Regions from separate parts of the Homo sapiens genome. Here region 1 is linked to region 2. Evidence: promoter capture Hi-C in 16 types of primary human blood cells and fetal thymus (Javierre and others, 2016). All regions are on one chromosome and are shown on one strand. The core of a region is centred on a gene start or on the middle of the fragment in contact, and the rest is flanking DNA. Distances in the headings are between cores, read along the strand shown. Region 1 has its middle 26 kb from the start of APOBEC1. Region 2 holds the start of NOP2 (NOP2 nucleolar protein).

What was found. The method cuts DNA at HindIII sites, captures the fragments that hold promoters and counts their contacts. A CHiCAGO score of 5 or more calls a contact.
Region 1: a fragment that was not itself captured here is called in contact with the fragment with the promoter of NOP2 in region 2 in 1 of 17 cell types (activated CD4 T cells); the score reaches 6.3 in activated CD4 T cells.

What each region holds. Positions count from the first base shown.
Region 1 is chr12:7,637,259-7,641,730 of GRCh38, reverse strand. No RefSeq gene overlaps it. Among named protein-coding and RNA genes, the nearest start is that of APOBEC1, 26 kb to the left of the region's middle. RefSeq lists silencers at 1,599-1,698, 2,780-2,909 and an enhancer at 3,351-3,885. The HindIII fragment of the contact is 2,319 bases long and covers 981-3,299 here.
Region 2 is chr12:6,565,300-6,569,762 of GRCh38, reverse strand. NOP2 (NOP2 nucleolar protein) reads left to right here and starts at 1,472. Exons shown (of 16, transcript NM_001258308.2): 1 at 1,472-1,556; 2 at 1,841-1,947; 3 at 2,941-2,986; 4 at 3,146-3,234; 5 at 3,427-3,662. The coding sequence starts at 1,845. It overlaps CHD4-AS1 (CHD4 antisense RNA 1), which reads right to left and starts at 1,392. Exons shown (of 3, transcript NR_199067.1): 1 at 233-1,392. RefSeq lists enhancers at 1,128-1,177, 1,001-1,622. The HindIII fragment of the contact is 18,468 bases long and covers 1-4,463 here.

The sequences.
Region 1 (4,472 bases), core at 891-3,390, 1.1 Mb before region 2:
AGATTACAGGCACATGCCACAACGCCCAACTAATTTTTGTATTTTTAGTAGAGACGGGGTTTCACCATGTTGACCAGGATGGTCTCAATCTCTTGACCTCGTGATCTGCCCGCCTCAGCCTCCCAAAGTGTTGGGATTACAGGCGTGAGCCACTGCGCCCAGCCTGGAAAGCTTTTATATACCTATCAGGGTTGTGAGAAAATTGGCTAAGTCTCCCTTTATTACAGGCCTAAGGGGCTGTAACGAGAAGGGAACTTGAAGGGGCCCCCAAAGAAGGGGGATCTTCAGATGGCTCCTCTGGAAGTTGCTTTTCTAATTTTGGGGAATTATTTTCAGTGAGCGTGCCTGATATGATTCCTAAAAGAGCTGGGTTGATCTTACACTGCTTGCAAAGTTTCAGTAAAAATACCATGCCCTTGTGCAAAATAAAATGAGTTGCTCTTCTCTTTAATGTCCTGAGGCTAAGAAAGTTTCAGTGTTTCAGAGTGCACGCCAGAGGGGCACAAACTGAAGATAATCTGTTACCCATCTAGAAAGAAAAGCAATAAAAGTGTCCTTTTAATCTACTTTGATTCCCTATGACCCCCGACGGAGAATAACACAGTGGAGTGTCCTGTTTTCCTTCCCTGGTTCCTGGGACCCTGTTAAATGTGCCACCCACGATTGTAAGCATGGTCCCCCAAGCCATGGGAGCGGATGAACTAAGTGATGGTGTGTCCGGAATGGGTGGGTTCTTGGTCTCACTGACTTCAAAAATGAAGCCGCAGACCCTCACGGTGAGTGTTACAGCTCTTAAGGTGGCGCGTCTGGAGTTTGTTCCTTTTGATGTGCAGGTGTGTTCAGTTTTTTCTTTCTGGTGGGTTCATGGTCTGGCGGGCTCAGGAGTAAAGCTGCAGACCTTTGCGGTCACTGTTACAGCTCTTAAGGCAGCGCGTCGGGAGTTGTTCGTTCCTCCCGGTAGGCTCGTGGTCTCGCAAGCTTTCGTGGTGAGTGCTGTAATTCACAAAAGTAGTATGGACCCCAAGAGCGAAAGAACAAAGCCCCACCAAGGCAGAGAGACACCCGAGCGGGTTACTACTACCAACTCGGGCAGCCTGCTTTTATTCTCTTATCTGGCCCCCCCCCAACCACATCCTGCTGATTGGTAGAGGCGAGTGGTCTGTTTTGACAGGGCGCTGATTGGTGCGTTTACAATCCCTGAGCTAGGTACAAAGGTTCTCCTCCTCCCCATCAGATTAGTTAGATACAGAGTATCCACACAAAGGTTCTCCAAGGCCCCACCAGAGCAGCTAGATACAGAGTGTCGATTGGCGCGCTCACAACCCTGAGCTAGACACAGGGTGCTGATTGGTGTGTTTACAAACCTTGAGCTAGATACAGAGTGTCCATTGGTGTATTTGCAATCCCTGAGCTAAACATAAATTCTCCACGTCCTCACCAGACTCAGGAGCCCAGCTGGCTTCACCCAGTGGATCCCGCACCGGCGCTGCAGTCCCACGCCATGCGCTTGCACTCCTCAGCCCTTGGGCGGTCGATGGGACTGGGCGCCGTGGAGCAGGGGGCGGCGCTCGTCGGGGAGGCTCCGGCTGCACAGGAACCCACGGAGGCGGGGGAAGGCTCAGGCATGGCGGGCTGCAGTCCCAAGGCCTGCCCCGCGGGAAGGCAGCTAAGGCCCGGTGAGAAATCGAGCGCAGCGCCGGTGGGCTGGCACTGCTGGGGGACCCAGTACACCCTCCGCAGCCGCTGGCCCGGGTGCTAAGCCCCTCACTGCCCCGGGCCGGCAGGGCCGGCCGGCTGCTCCGAGTGCGGGGCCGCCAAGCCCACGCCCCCCCGGAACTCCAGCTGGCCCGCAAGCGCCGCGCGCAGCCCCGGTTCCCGCTCGCGCGTCTCCCTCCACACCTCCCTGCAAGCTGAGGGAGCGGGCTGCGGCCTTCGCCAGCCCAGAAAGGGGCTCCCACAGTGCAGCGGTGGGCTGAAGGGCTCCTCAAGTGCCGCCAAAGTGGGAGCCCAGGCAGAGGAGGCGCCGAGAGCGAGCGAGAGCTGTGAGGACTGCTAGCACGCTGTCACCTCTCAATGGGATTAACCACACTTTACCCACGCAACCTTAGCTTATCTGCCTTGTGTGATTCCCTTTGACTTCCTAAGCCTATGTGATCTACCTGGCTCCCTGAAAAATTGATCTTTGGAGAGACTGTGTTGTTTTTGGTCAAGGCTCCTTTAACAGAGGCAATGTGCTAGACTGCCTGCTATTATGGCCCATGCCAAACCATTTACCCTCAGAAAAATGGTTCTGGTTAACTTCTGAACTTAAAATCTCCCTACTAATTATACCATTTTAACAGGAAACAGATTAGATGTCTTAAAAGAGCGTAGGAACAGAATGGCCATTTTCCTGCTTATGGGACAATATCAAGACTAAAATGTGGCAGCAGACATATTACTTCTTTTTGAGACAGAGTCTCACTGTCACCCAGGCTGGAGTGCAGTGACGTAATCTCAGCTCACTGCAACCTCTGCTTCCCCGTTTTAAGCAATTCAATAGCCTCAGCCTCCTGAGCAGCTGGGACCGCAGGTGTGCACCACCACGCCCAGCTAATTTTTGTGTTTTTAGTAGAGACGGGGTTTCACCATATTGGCCAGGCTGGTCTCGAACTCCTGACCTCGTGATCCACCCGCTTTGGCCTCCCAAAGTGTTGGGATTACAGGCGTAAGCCACCATGCCCGGTCGAGGACATATTACTTCTAATTGCTGAAGGCAGAACTTTCCGGTTCACAGAAGTAGGTTAGAGCCTGATTTCTGGTGGTGCAAAAGGAAGTTCAGTGTTACCGTAAAAAATGTGGCCCCTGAAGAGGATTTCTACTTCCACTAGGTGGCGCTGTTGGCTTAGAAATACTATATGCTCACCAGCGCAGCCACAGAGAGCGGGCTTGTTGAGTTACTGCCTGCTGCGTTTGCCATCTTTCCTAGCAGACCTGTTTCACTGAACTGTAAAACTCCCTGCACTTTTCACAGAGAGAGAGTAAGAGACCGTGGATAGAGAAAGAAGGAAAATTTTGCAACAGGATAGTAAGAAGAGAGCCTTGAAATTGAAGGAGAGATTTGAGGTTGGGGCTCGCTCTATAGTCACCACTCCGATGAATGAATTCCCGGTCAATGCAACCAAAATGATAACTGCTCTGATGAATGGAAGAACAGCAGGGTCCTTGGTCTAACATCGTTTTAGATAAAGCGACATGGACACATGTAGAGTGGTTTTAAGGAGTGGAGAGTTTAATAAGCAAGAAAGAAGGAAGAAGCTTCCCAGTACAGGGACAGAGGGAGGGGGGCTCCCAGAGAGAAACCCCGTGTGTGGCAGAGTAGTTTGTTATAGCAGGAGGCTGGAGGAGGAGGTGTCTAATTTGCATAGGGCCCAGGAGATTGGTTTGACCAGGCGTGTCATTCACATAGCCCGTGAAAAACCTGGCACTCCTACCTTACTCCTTTAATATGCAAATGCAGGTCACCATGATATCCATGTTATCTGGAGGCAATCATGACACTTGGCACATGTAGTGATGAGGAGGAGAGGGTGGCACTCTTCCTGTTGGCCATGTTGGGTGGACCCAGTTTCTAATCGCCAGCATTTGCATATCAAAGCTTGCCGGCCTGGTTTTTCAAGCTGCCTTTCTGTTAGAAAAGAAATGGTTTGGGGGTTGCTTCTTATTACAGGAAAATTTCCACTGAGAACCTTTACCCTTTCTAGCGGCCTAAAAGTTATTTCTTAATAATTCCTGTATTATTTGGAGGTGTTTGGGTCATGTGGGTAGATCCCTCCTGAAGTAATGAGTTCTCACTGTTCGTTCACACAAGAGCTTGTTGTTTAAGAGTCTGGCATCTCGCTTGCTCCTACTCTCACCATGTGGCACACTGTCGCCCCTTTGCCTTCCACCATGATTGTAAGCTTCCTGAAGCCCTCATCAGAAGCAGATGCTGGCACTATGCTTCATGCACAGCCTGTAGAACTATGAGTCAACTTAACCCCTTTTCTTTATAGATTACCCAGCCTCAGGTATTCTTTTATAGTAATGCAAGCAGACTAACACAAAGCTCATTATATATTTACAGTAGAGATGGATGTTAATACATGAGCATATTTTATATGAGCCACTATAATTATTGCTATTCCTATAGGAGAAAAATTATTCAGCTGATTAGCAAACTTTCACAGAGAAAATATCTAATGGTCATTAGCTGTACTATGAACTTTAGGCTTTATTTTCTCATTCACAGTTGGAGGCTCAACAAAAATTGTATCAGCTAAATTATCATTTGATATCAACCTTCATGATAGATATTGTTGTAGTAAAGCAAAGTAAAATGAAAGTAAAGTCAAAGTAAAGCAAAGTAAAAGGCTAGAGAGTGTTGGAAGCAGTGAATCCTATTTTAGATGGACTTGCCAAGGATACTGGTAATTTTCTTTTTTTTTTGAGAT
Region 2 (4,463 bases), core at 223-2,722:
TAACACCTAACCACTACCTTAATGTTAGTTTCTAGGAAGGCTGAGGGGGGTTTTCTTGCTAAGTTGTGCAAAATTGGGATGCAATTTGTGGAAGAACACAGCCTCAATCCCACACCCCCGGAGGCCCGACCTAACGTCCTCCAACCTTGAAACCCTTGTAGTTCACCCCTTCTCATGTCCCAGACCAGGTCAGCCTTGCAACCCGTTGTTTCCCAACTAATTGTAGACCCACCTGAAAGCGAGTTCCGGCGAAGAGGCCCCCTGCGAATGAGGTGCAGTGCAGCACCTTAATTGAGGGGCTGAGCAGGGGTCAGCATCAAGGAAGGTGCTGGGAGGGCGGGGCACGGTGGCTCACAGCCTGTAATCTCAGCACAAAGGTGGGGGCAGGAGGATCGCTTAAGCCCAGGAGTTCTAGACCAGCCCTGGCAATATAGTGAGACGCCACCCCCTACAACCCGTCTCTATAAAAAGATTTTTAAAAAAGGGGCAAAGAGGAGGAGGTAAGTGGCATGGAATTCCACGGTTTTTTTTGTTTGTTTGTTTTGAGATGGAGTCTCGCTTTGTTGCCAGGCTGGAGTACAGTGGCGCGATCTCAGCTCACTGCAACCTCCCCCTCCCGGGTTCAAGCGATTCTCCTGCCTCAGCCTCCCGAGTAGCTGGGACTACACGCGTGCGCCAGCCACCATGCCCAACTAATTTTTGTATTTTTAATAGAGACAAGGTTGGCCAAGATGGTCTCGGATTTCTTGACCTCGTGATCCGCCCGCCTCGACCTCCCAAAGTGCTGGGATTACAGGCGTGAGCCACCGAGCCCGGCTGGTTTTTTTGTTTTTTTTTTTTGAGGTGGAGTTTCGCTCTTGGTGAGGCTTAAGTGGCACGATCTCGGCTTACTGCAACCTCCGCCTCCCGGGCTCAAGCAATTCTGCCTCAGCCTCTCGAGTAGCTGGGATTATAGGCGCCCGCCACCACGCCCGGCTAATTTTGTATTTTTAGTAGAAGCAGGGTTTCACCATATTGGCCAGGCTGGTCTCGAACTCCTGACCTCAAGTGATCCACCCACCTCAGCCTCCCAAAGTGCTGGGATTACAGGCGTGAGCCACTGCGCCCAGCCTGGAATTCCGTGATCTTGACGCTGGACTAGGGCAGTGGATGCGAGGGAGAGGGCTCCAATGTCGGGCCCTGGTTCGAGGAGAAGGTGCGGCTTTCACCCAACAGAAACCGGCCGTGAGGCTAAAAGCCAACTCCATGAGGGAAGGTCGGTCAAGCTCAATGGTTTCGTCACATTGCTCCCTCCACCCGCCGCGGGTGTAAGCTGCGCGTCTCCTTCGAATTGCCCCCTACTCGCCGCCGCCGGCTCCGCTGGCGTTCCCAGGGCGAGCGTAAGTTCCGGGTGCGGCGGCCGACTAGGCGCAACAGGAAGAGGCGGGGCCGCGAGGCTAGCGCTACCCGTGCGCCTGCGTGGAACGATTCTGTGGCGAGTGCCGGCCGAAAGCTAGGTCCGGATTGCACGTGGAGGGCCGCCCGAAGGGCACTCTCGGACATTAACCCGCATTCTGGTGGGTCTAGAGGAAATTGGGGGACGAAGAGTGGCAGCACTGACCTGGTCTGGGACGTGGGGAGAAGGGTGCGCTACCTGGGTTTCAGGTGGGAGGGCGTTCGGTCGGGCCTCCAGGGGGATAGCGGGGGTGCTTGAGTCGCGGGTGCTGAGTCGGGAGTGCTGAGTGAGTTGCGGGTGCTGAGTTGAGGCTGTGCCCTTTCCCACTATAATACGCCAAGCGTGCGTTCTGCCGTTCCCTCCGACACGCGCGACGCCACCTTCTCCCATTTCTGCCTGCCACAGTACCATGGGGCGCAAGTTGGACCCTACGAAGGAGAAGCGGGGGCCAGGCCGAAAGGCCCGGAAGCAGAAGGGTGCCGAGACAGAACTCGTCAGATTCTTGCCTGCAGGTAAGGATTAGTTGTGGCCTCCTGATCCCTCAGCTTTTGCAGTATTCTGTATTATAACCTCTTCTCTTTTTTAGTTTCTGTTCATTTTATATTTAAGTGGAATCTTCTCTGTATGAGTTACTAGGAGGTATGAATGAAACAGCCGTTTAGATTGTAGGGAACTGTTTAGGTCGTAGAGATGTGAAGACACGGACACAACTATTATTCATGCAAGGGAAAAGTGTGATTTAAAACAATTGTGAGTTCAGAGGAAGGGGGAGCCCATGCAGAACTGTAAAAGTTTTTGTTAAGCTGGGTTTTGAAAAATGGGTAACATTGTAGCAAGAGGAAGTAGTGAAGGGGAGGGGTCAGTCACTGATTTGCCTTTTGGAAGGGGTGGAAATGGAAAAGCACGGATCTGGCTGCTTCATGCCGAGTAGTAGTATACTGTGTGGAAGACTGGTGGGAGGTAACACTGGACCGGGAGTTTGTGTTGGGCATTGGATAAAGGATGCAGTTTATTGAGATAGTAGGAAGTCCTGGGCACTGTATTAAACTTGTTGGTCATGTTATATCGCTTAATCATCTTAGAGTCCTGTGAGAGAGGCACTATTAAGGAAACACTTTGGGAGGCCGAGGCAGGTGGATCACCTGAGGTCCAGTGTTCGAGACCAGCCTGGCCAACATGGTGAAACCCTGTCTTTACTAAAAATACAACAATTAGCTGGGTGTGGTGATGGGAGGCTGAGGCAATAGAATCGCTTGAATCTGGGAGAAGGAGGTTGCAGTGAGTTGAGATCACGCCATTGCACTCCAGCCTGGAAGACAAGAGTGAAACTCCATTTCAAAAAAAAAAAAGAAACTTGTATACAGTTATTAAATAATAACAGGGCTGAGATTTAAATGGACTCCTTTTAATTAGTGTACTAATTCTCTTACCATGTTTATTTCCGTTCCCATTTATTTTTAATGTCCCCTGTAACTTGTTCTGCCTCGTTTTTCTTTTTTAAACAGTAAGTGACGAAAATTCCAAGAGGCTGTCTAGTCGTGCTCGAAAGAGGTAAGTGTGGGTGTCAAAACTTAAGTAGGTTAAATTGGTACTGCTCATCTTTGACCACAGAGTTAATTCTAGACTCTCACATTTCCCTATGGTGGAAATGGCAGAGCCTGGAAGTATCTTCCCATTTCTTCACTCCTTGAATCTCTTGTGTCTTTTCAGGGCAGCCAAGAGGAGATTGGGCTCTGTTGAAGCCCCTAAGACAAATAAGTCTCCTGAGGCCAAACCATTGCCTGGAAAGCTACCAAAAGGTCCGTGAAACTAAGAGCTGGATGCTACATGAGGAGTCCCTTTGGGTCCTGGGTAGGGAAGAACTCGCTAAACATTTCCGGAGTGAAAGGAACAGCCAAAGGACATTCTGAGGGGTAGAAAGTACAGGCTCCCAGGGTGTGGGGCCAGGGAATGTGTGGCTGCCATTAGTCCAGGACTCTTCAAACCCTTAGGGATCTCTGCAGGAGCTGTCCAGACAGCTGGTAAGAAGGGACCCCAGTCCCTATTTAATGCTCCTCGAGGCAAGAAGCGCCCAGCACCTGGCAGTGATGAGGAAGAGGAGGAGGAAGACTCTGAAGAAGATGGTATGGTGAACCACGGGGACCTCTGGGGCTCCGAGGACGATGCTGATACGGTAGATGACTATGGAGCTGACTCCAACTCTGAGGATGAGGAGGAAGGTGAAGCGGTGAGATTCATCTTTTTGGGCATTCATAGAAGGATCCTTGCTATTTAGTTTCTTTCCCAGATTCTTGAGACTGTTTCTTAGTGGCAAGGATAAGCCTGACTAGAGGAAAGGGGTTTTTGTGCTCCATCACTGTTTCCCTACTGCCTTATATCCTCCCAGTGCACTACAAGTTTGAAAGAGCTGTAGGATAGAGCATTTAAAAAAATCTAGAAGGCTGTCTTGGTGTAGGTATGGGAAGGTGGACAATGGTGTGCTCCACTGATGGGCACAGAAATGCACTTTTTATAAAGCAGTTATCTCAGAACTTTGAAAAATTTGTTCCTTTTGGCTGGGTATGGTGCCTCACATCTGTAATCCCAGCACTTTGGGAGGCTGAGGCAGGAGGATTGCTTGAGCCCAGGAATTGGAGACCAGCTTGGGCAACATAGGGAGATCCCGTATCTACAAAAAATTAAAAAATTGGCCTGGCACAGTGGCTCATGCCTATAATCCTAGCACTTTGGGAGGCCAAGGTGGGCGGATCACCTGAGCTCCGGAGTTCGAGACCAGCCTGGACAATATGGCGAAACCCCATCCCTACTAAAAATATGAAAATTAGCTGGTGTGGTGGTATATGCCTGTAATCCCAGCTACCTGGGAGGCTGAGGCAGGAAAATTGCTTGAACCTGTGAGGCGGAGATGGCAGTGAGCCGAGATCATGCCATTGCACTCCAGCCTGGGCAACAAAGTGAGACTCTGTCTCAAAAAAAAAAAAAGTTAAGTTAAAAAATGGTTTAAAAATTAGCTGGGTGTGGTGGCGTA